Regions from separate parts of the Homo sapiens genome. Here region 2 is linked to region 1. The links are contacts of gene promoters, found by promoter capture Hi-C in blood cells and fetal thymus (Javierre and others, 2016). All regions are on one chromosome and are shown on one strand. Each heading gives the region's core, a stretch centred on a gene start or on the middle of the fragment in contact. The rest is flanking DNA. Distances are from core to core; before and after follow the strand shown. Region 1 holds the start of LINC03040 (long intergenic non-protein coding RNA 3040). Region 2 has its middle 6.4 kb from the start of VEGFA.

Region 1 (4,218 bases), core at 1,002-3,501:
CTCCTCCTGGCTCCGTGGGCTCCTGTGCGGCCAGAGCCTCCCCGACGAGCGCCACCCCCTGCTCCATGGCGCCCAGTCCCATCCACCACCCAAGGGCTGAGGAGTGCGGGCGCACAGCGCCGGACTGGCAGGCAGCTCCACCTGCAGCCCTGGTGCAGGATCCACTGGGTGTAGCCAGCTGGGCTCCTGAGTCTGGTGGGGACGTGGAGAACCTTTATGTCTAGCTCAGGGATTGTAAATACACCAATTGGCACTCTGTATCTAGCTCAAGGTTTGTAAACACACCAATCAGCACTGTGAATGCACCAATCGACACTGTATCTAGCTACTCTGGTGGGGACTTGGAGAACCTTTGTGTCAACACTCTGTATCTAGCTAATCTAGTGGGGACATGGTGAACCTTTGTGTCTAGCTCGGATTGTAAACGCACCAATCAGCACCCTGTCAAAACAGACCACTGGGCTCTACCAATCAGCAGGATGTGGGTGGGGCCAGATAAGAGAATAAAAGCAGGCTGCCCCAGCCCGCAGTGGCAACCCGCTGGGATCCCTTTCCACGCTGTGGAAGCTTTGTTCTTTTGCTCTTTGCAATAAATCTTGCTACTGCTCACTCTGTAGGTCCACGCTGCCTTTATGAGCTGTAACACTCACCGCGAAGGTCTGCAGCTTCACTCCTGAAGCCAGCGAGACTACGAGCCCACCGGGAGGAACAGACAACTCCAGACGCGCCGCCCTAAGAACTGTAACACTCACCGCGAAGGTCTGCAGCTTCACCCCTAAGCCAGCGAGACCACGAACCCACCAGAAGGAAGAAACTCTGAACACATCTGAACATCAGAAGGAACAAACTCTGGACACGCTGTCTTTAAGAACTGTAACACTCACCGCGAGGGTCCGCGGCTTCATTCTTGAAGTCAGTGAGACCAAGAACCCACCAATTCCGGACACAGGAGGATCGCTTGAGCCCAGGAATTCAAGACCAGCCTGGGCAACCCAGCAACACTCCATCTCTACAGAAGTTGTAAAATTAGCTGGGCGTGATGGGGCGCATCTGTAGTCCTAGCTACTTATCCTAGCCTTGGCGAGAGGATCACTTGAGCCCAGGAGGTTAAGGCTGCAGTGAGCCATGATTGCACCACTGCACTCCAGCCGGGGTAACAAAGTCAGACCGTGTCTCTAAAAATAAATAAATAAATAAAAATAAAATAAATTTGACAACCAAGTTTAAATGGTGTTCTCATTATTCCCATTTTACAGATGCAGTCACTGGGGCCCCCAAGAAGTTAAGTGATCTGCCTAAGATCACATGCCTTTGTTTATATGTGTTGGAATTTTTCAATTCTCTCTGGAAATCCACATCCTCCACCCCCAACCCAGACTCCAACACAACTGCTTCCACCACGGCCCACCTGCGTACCCCACACATATCCCTGAAGTGCAGACTTCCTCCCATCCTTCCCCAGGAAGATTCCCTGGTCTGTGGGGTAGCGAGTGTTGGGGTGGTCTCTCCTTCCCTCCCATGCTTCTAGATTCCTCTGTAGGGTCCCGGTTTTGTTTTTGGTGTGGCAGCAAGCTCACTGCCTTTTTGAGTACTGTATGTCAGTGAGTTTGCATGCACACACCTGGAGGAGGGATGTGTGGGCATGAGAGGTATCTGGGCAAGTGGGCTTACTTGCCCACCTGGGGCACATGTGGGTACAGTGCAGTGGAGCATACATTGCCTAGATTGTAACCGTGTGTGTGCCTAGACACAGGCAAATGAGCCCATGTGGGTGTTCATGAAGGGCCTGCCCCCTGCATGTTTGGGGGTCTGTAGAATGAGTCCCCATTTCTCTCCCCTTCCCAAATAACTGCCACCATCTTCAGTTCAGACTCCTGGGCCCCAGGTAAGGGGCTGGTGAAAACCGCCTGTGACTGGGGACAGAGACACCTGAGTCTTAAGCCCCACCCAGGCTGCTAGTGCCCTTGAGCAGGCATCACCCCACCCAGGCAGCGGGAGTGTCCTCACCCAATGGGATAGGGTGACATGGGGGAGGAGGTTTGAAGCGGGGAGAAGGCAGCGAGGCTTTCAGCTCCCTAGATGGGAGGCTCATTACCCTAGCACTCAGTAGGTTGTAGGGAAGGGGGACTGAGCCAGGACTTGGCACTGACTACAAAGGGTAGGGGCAGCCCCCAGCACTCCCGCCGCGGCAGGCCAGGGGAGGGGCTGTGACGTTTGGTGGCCTCATGCAGCTGAGAGGAAGTAGCTAATTGCCAACCTGATGACTGGCGGCTGAGGAGTGGGGTGATGATGCCACTGGCAGAAGCAGGCGCCCTGGCCCAAGGAGGAGGCCCTTCAGCAACGGAGTGGGCCTGCATTCTGCGGAGGGTGAGACTGAGGTGGCTGCAGTCAAAGGAGAAGGGGGCAGGGGTTTGTTGAGGCTGTGACCGTGGGAAAGCGCTTCTCCAGGGCTTCCCTCAGCTTCAAGGAGAAAGAGTTCAGAGGCCCTGAGGGGATGAAGGGACTTGTGAAGGGGCTTCAGGGGGATGGGTTGGGGGGAAGGAGGTTCCTATTCTTACTCCCCTTCTGCCTATGCTCCCCCAATGTTCCTGTCTCTCCCCTCCCCCACCTTGGCCCCCTCTTTGGCCCCTGTGGCCAAAGTTGTTGAGGAAGGAGGGAGTAGATGGAGGGCTCTTTTCACCAGAAGACCCCCAGGCACAAGCAGCCCACCTTACTGATGGTCAGAGCATCCAGAAGAAGTGGCAAGACTTCAGCTGTCCTCAAAGCAGGAAGACAGAGTGTTTCTGGCAGAAAGAACAGCACAAGCAAAGGTTAGGCAGTGGGGTCTGGAGAGGCTGGTGGAGGACTGGGGCTTGGCTTCAATGGTTATGAGAGGAGGTGGGCAGGATGTTCTGTACCAAGGGCCACACTGTCCCTTCCTGGAAGAAACAGTGGGTACCCAGCACCCAGAGCTTCTCCCACATGCTGGCCACCGCCTCTGGCCCCAGTAGACCTGGCCCTCAACTGCCTCAGCAAGCCTCACAGGTTGGGGACCCCACCCTCATTATTCTCAAGTGCATCAACCCCGAAGGACTGAAGCCCCGAGTCCCAATAAACAGGTCCCATCCATCCGTAGGCCAGTCCGCTGGGCCCCTAGCACCCCCTATGGGCAGGAAGCAACACTAATGGAGGAGGAGCCTCCAGCAGCCTGGGGTGGGGTGGGGGTGGGAGAGTGAGACGTGAGGGAGGAGAGAGACTTGCCCTCTAGGAAGCGGACAGACCATGCCTCAGGAAACCCCAGTGTCACAGGTCACAGACACTGACCTTGAAGCGTTACTCTCATGGGTGAAATTTAGCCCCTGTCCTCAGGAAGCTCCCAGTCTGACGGGGGACACATATAGTGCTCTCAGAGCTGCCTTCTTTAGGGTGAAACTCAGTATCTGGGCTTCAGGAAACTCCCAGTGTAAGGGGAGAGACACGACCCTGCCCTTAGGGATCTCTCAAATGAGGCATACCCACTGGACTTTCGGGAACCATCAATCTGTTTCCAGACATGGATTAGAGATTTCAATGCCTCAAGGGCTGCCAGGAAAAAAAATACAAGACGTCCAATTAAATTGAATATCAGATAAACAACGAATAATATTTTAGCATAAGTCTGTCCCATACAATATTTGGGACAGACTTACACTATTTAAAGTATCCAGTTTAACTGGAAGTCTTGTGTTTTTATTTGCCAGATCTGGTAACCCTAGGTGCCTCCAGTTTGAGGGAGGAGAGAGGACACCCCCTCCACCCCAGACATAGGAAAGCAGGTAAACACCTCAGCGTGCTCCGGAGGGCAGGGGTGGGGCAGGAGGAGAGTCCTGGGGCTCCGGCTCGCGGCAGTTTAAAATTCCTTCCAGGCCAGAGCCCTAATCCCTCGGTGCACAATGGCCGCCTTCTCCCCCGCCGCCCGCGCCCACGCCCTCCCCCGCGGGGCCGTGGCAGTGCCACCAAGGGCCTCTTTAAGCCCCTTTGAAGCCGCGGAGCCCCGCGCCGCAGGAGGCCCCGCCGCTATGCCAGCTATGCCAGCTATGTCCCTGCTGCCGCCGGCCGCCACCGCTCCCCCATTAATGCTGGCTAATCTGGCTAATAAATAAACTCCCCTCCCAGCCCCAGCCCCGCGCCGACTCCTCCCCGCCCCCGCAGAATCGATGTCAGGGCTCGACTAGAGCAAGCGCCCGCACTCCACCCCAC
Region 2 (3,942 bases), core at 275-2,774, 240 kb before region 1:
TGTTGGGTGTGGGCTACACTTATGCATGAAGATTAGTGGGGAGTCCTGGCCTGGCCTTTCCAAGAGAGGAGGAGGTAGGGAGGCGTGCAGACCAGGGACCCAGACAGGCCTCATTCTCAGCAGGGAGCTGCACATTCCAGCCTAGAGTCAAGAGCGGACTGGGGCAGGGCAGACATTCACCTGGTGTACCCCAGCACGCCTCCTGATTGATTGGTAAATAGCTGTTGTTCCAGTCCTTGAGTTCCCCCTGTGCCTCTCTGGCCACCCCAGTCCCTTACTTGGTCCCCTGGACCTCTCCACCATCCAGAAATTGAGGTTTATGTCTGGCTTGGCATACGCCGTCAGCTCTATGTGAACTGTGCCTGAGCCATAGCAGGTGTTAAATGTTTTGGCCATCATCCTGAGCTCCGCAGGGGCCTTGTGCCCCACAGCTGGAGCTGACTGCGACCAGGTCCTGGAACTTGGAGAAGCTGGCAGCAGGCACAGCAGCTCTGAGCATGCCCTGCCTCACTTCTCCTGATGCTTCCAGCTGTGTTCTGGAAGGAGATGGGTCTGGATAAGCAGGCTGGCATGCAGGGAGATGTAGGCGGGACCATCTCTCCAGGAGACCCCAGTAGGGAATGGTTTAGCTGTGGCCTCTGCAGGGCACTGCCTGGAGTAAGGGAGTGCTGAGCCCCTCTAGGGAAGGAGGAGCAAACAACAGATCCCTGGGTCAGCTGCTGACACACTCCTATGCACGCGGCATCTAGTTCTAGCACCTCCTCTCTGGCACTGCCTGGCTCCCCACCCAGCCAGTCAGCTCTTAGAGGCAGAAGCCCAGTGTATCCCAAAGGTGCCTGGCTCAGTGCTGGGCCCCGATTAAATGATGAAGTGGCCTGGGGAGGTAGAAAGAGCCCCAGGCTGTGAGTTGAGTGATCTGGGTTGAGGTCTTGACTCTATGCAGCGCTCCGGCTTTGGACAACTCTGGGCTTCCTTCTGCTCCTCTGGCCAGTAAGCTTCTTTAGCAGTGGAAACTTTTCCTCAAATGAAATTCCAAGTGAGGGGCCAATAAATGAAGCAGATAAAACTGCATGTACTGTGTTTGCCCACTCCCACACCTTCCTGCTACCTGTCCCATCTCTGAGGACCCTCAAGACTCCTAGGAGCACAGTCTGATGTTCTCCTGACATGGATATCCTCTGACTAATTGCCTGCTTCCCTGAATATCTCGAGGCTATTGGGCCAGGCTGATCCTGGAAGCTGAGGGGAGGCCTCCCCACTCCTCATGCCCTGTACTTCTGGGTCTGGGAAAGCAGGGAGTATGGTGGGACTTTGAATCCAAAGTCCCTGTACTTTCCACTGCCCTACCTAGATGTCCCTGTACCTCCTGTAAAATCAGCATAGAGCCTGGTGCCTGGTAGTCCCTACAAATATTCACAAATTGGAGCTTAGCTCAGCTCTCAGGGGGCCAATCAGGGGGCCAATCATTAACTGGCTTTATCTTTGTGAACCATCCTGGGGGGCCCAGGTCATCGCCCCAGCTTCCAGCCCAGGCCCAGGGGGCTGCTGGGGGAAGGGGCCCTTCTTGCTGGGAGGTAGGGGGCGCCTTGGGTCCCTGCCTCTTTTTTTTCCTGGGACTTCCCCGAAGGAACTCACATTGCAGTCAACTCAGTGACAACCTAGTTACATAGTTGCTTCAAATAAAGACTAAAGCAGGATCCAAGCCAACAGATCCCCCAACCCCTAGTCATCTTTGGCACGCATTATGTAATTTCTTGCTTTTCTTTTTTTTTAACCAGGGGTGGGGTAAACCCATTTCCCTATTTGTTTCTGTTTTACTTTAGCCAGATGATAGTGGGTTTGCATTCTCTAAGAGTTTGCTCACGAATGGGGGTGGGAACAGGAGACAGGGAAGGGAAAAACATTTATATGATACCTACTCTGGGCAAGGAGCTTAGCTGATGTTTGCTGTTTCCATATATTTCCCTACAACCCTGGGAGGTAAGAACCATGAACCTCATTTTACAGATGAGGAAACTGAGGCTCAGACAAGATAAGTGAATTGTCCAAGTCTCAAAGCTTGGAAGTGTTGAACCAAGATCAAACCCAGCCTGTCTGGCTTTTTCCATTACTCGCTATGGGGGTGGTGGGGTGGAGAAAGGGGAGTGGGTGGGTGGCTGAGGCTTTTCACAGTGAGGGTTCATCAAGCTGGTGTCTTTCCTGAAAGGACAGAGGTCTGGCATCTCAGGTAACAGAGGAAGCGGTTCCCTACCTGCTGGGATTTGAGGGGTTCATAAGAACTGCTTCTCCCTTCCATCACTTGGTGCTGAGCCCCAGATTTCACCACTAGTGCTAGATTTCTTTGAGTTAAGCACTGCCCTCTCCAAGAGGCTTTTAAAACACACAGGCCCTGGAAGATGTGACATTTGGTATCAGTCATCTCATCTGGAGTGTTTGAGGGAGATGTTACAGGCTCACAGAGCCTCAGAGCTTAGGGAGTGGAACCTCATGCTTTACCCAGGAGAAGCCTGAGGTCCAGCAAGGGGAGCTGACTCGGCCAAGGTCACACAGCATGCAACAGACTCTGGAAATTTTTTTTTTTTTTTAGACGGAGTCTCGCTTTGTCGCCCAGGCTGGAGTGCAGTGGTGCCATCTTGGCTTACTTGCCTCCTGGGTTTAAGTGATTCTCCTGCCTCAGCCTCCCAAGTAGTTGGTACTATAGGCATGCACAACCACGCCTGGCTAACTTTTGTATTTTTAGTAGAGACAGGGTTTCACCATGTTGGCCAGGCTGATCTTGAACTCCTGACCTCAGGTGATCTGCCCATCTCGGCCTCCCAAAGTGCTGAGATTACAGACGTGAGCCACCACACCCAGCCAGACTCAGGACTTTTTTGCCCAGTGCTGTTTCGAAGTCGCCACATGCCTGTGACAGGTAGACAGGAGGGCTCTGGGTACCAGGTAATGAAGTGAGGGATTAAAGCTGGAGGAAATGTATCTTTCTGCTTTATGCCTTGGCCCAGCTGAGTGGCCCTGTGCTCGTCACAGGCTGGTGTCCTCTGCTCTCCTCCCCTCACTCCTGGGGCAAGCAACAGTGGTGTTCCATGTGTGAGCTGGACCTACCACTAGTGTTGGCTTGTTTAAATTCTCTGACAGAGACAAACTGTCCCGGGGGGCGGGGAAGGCAGTGTGGAGCTCACCCCCTGAGGGAGCAGCATTGTCTCTGTGGGCTTTGGCTGGGAATGTTTCTGAAGACGCCCTAATCCCTTGCCCTGCCTAGCCTCAAAGTCTCTATCACTCAGAGGAGTACTGGGAGGGCTCAGTGTGAGCCATCAGAACCTTCCAGGGTATCTTCCCTTGCTTGTTCTCTTTGCGCAGTCCACTTGGTTTGCTAAACTCCTGCTCTTCCATCAAGACCCAACTCAAGGCCAGGCACGGTGGCTCACGCCTGTAATCCCAGCACTCTGGGAGGCAGAGGTGGGCCGATCACTTGAGGTCAGGAGTTCGAGACCAGCCTGGGCAACATGGTGAAACACCATCTCTACTAAAAACACAAAAATTAGCCAGGTGTGGTGGCAGGCACCTGCAGTCCCAGCTACTCCGGAGGCTGAGGCAGGAGAATTGCTCGAACCTGGGAGGCAGGGGTTGCAGTGAGCCGACATGGCGCCACTGCACTCCAGTCTGGGCGACAGAGTGAGACCCTATCTCAAAAAAAAAAAAAAAAAAAAAAGACCCAACTCAAGTATCATCTCCAGGAAGCCTTCCCCTACTCCCAGCAATTAAATGCTCCTCAGAGAATTCCCATTTTTGGTTTACTCTTTGGTTTACCTCCAGACAGGAAGCCCCCACTGACACTGTTGTAGTCCCAGGGTGCAACACAAAGCAGAGATCACAAGCTGAGTTTAATAATTGCTTGTGGAATACATGTCCCAAGCCACCTCCTGCAGGAAGCCCTTCCAGATG

The links. Contacts are between HindIII fragments. The CHiCAGO score rates a contact against its expected background, and 5 or more counts as called.
Region 2: a contact is called between a fragment that was not itself captured here and the fragment with the promoter of LINC03040 in region 1, in 6 of 17 cell types (monocytes, erythroblasts, endothelial precursors and 3 more). The highest score is 12.2, in monocytes.

What each region holds. Positions count from the first base shown.
Region 1 is chr6:43,998,334-44,002,551 of GRCh38, forward strand. It overlaps LINC03040 (long intergenic non-protein coding RNA 3040), which reads left to right and starts at 2,252. Exons shown (of 3, transcript NR_160956.1): 1 at 2,252-2,367; 2 at 3,720-3,794. SCIRT (stem cell inhibitory RNA transcript) reads right to left here. Exons shown (of 5, transcript NR_125864.1): 2 at 2,710-2,783; 3 at 2,258-2,382; 4 at 885-1,175. It overlaps LOC124901321 (a long non-coding RNA gene), which reads left to right. Exons shown (of 2, transcript XR_007059591.1): 2 at 618-1,221. RefSeq lists an enhancer at 2,359-2,508. The HindIII fragment of the contact is 11,725 bases long and covers 566-4,218 here.
Region 2 is chr6:43,761,792-43,765,733 of GRCh38, forward strand. No RefSeq gene overlaps it. Among named protein-coding and RNA genes, the nearest start is that of VEGFA, 6.4 kb to the right of the region's middle. RefSeq lists an enhancer at 2,981-3,482. The HindIII fragment of the contact is 1,063 bases long and covers 994-2,056 here.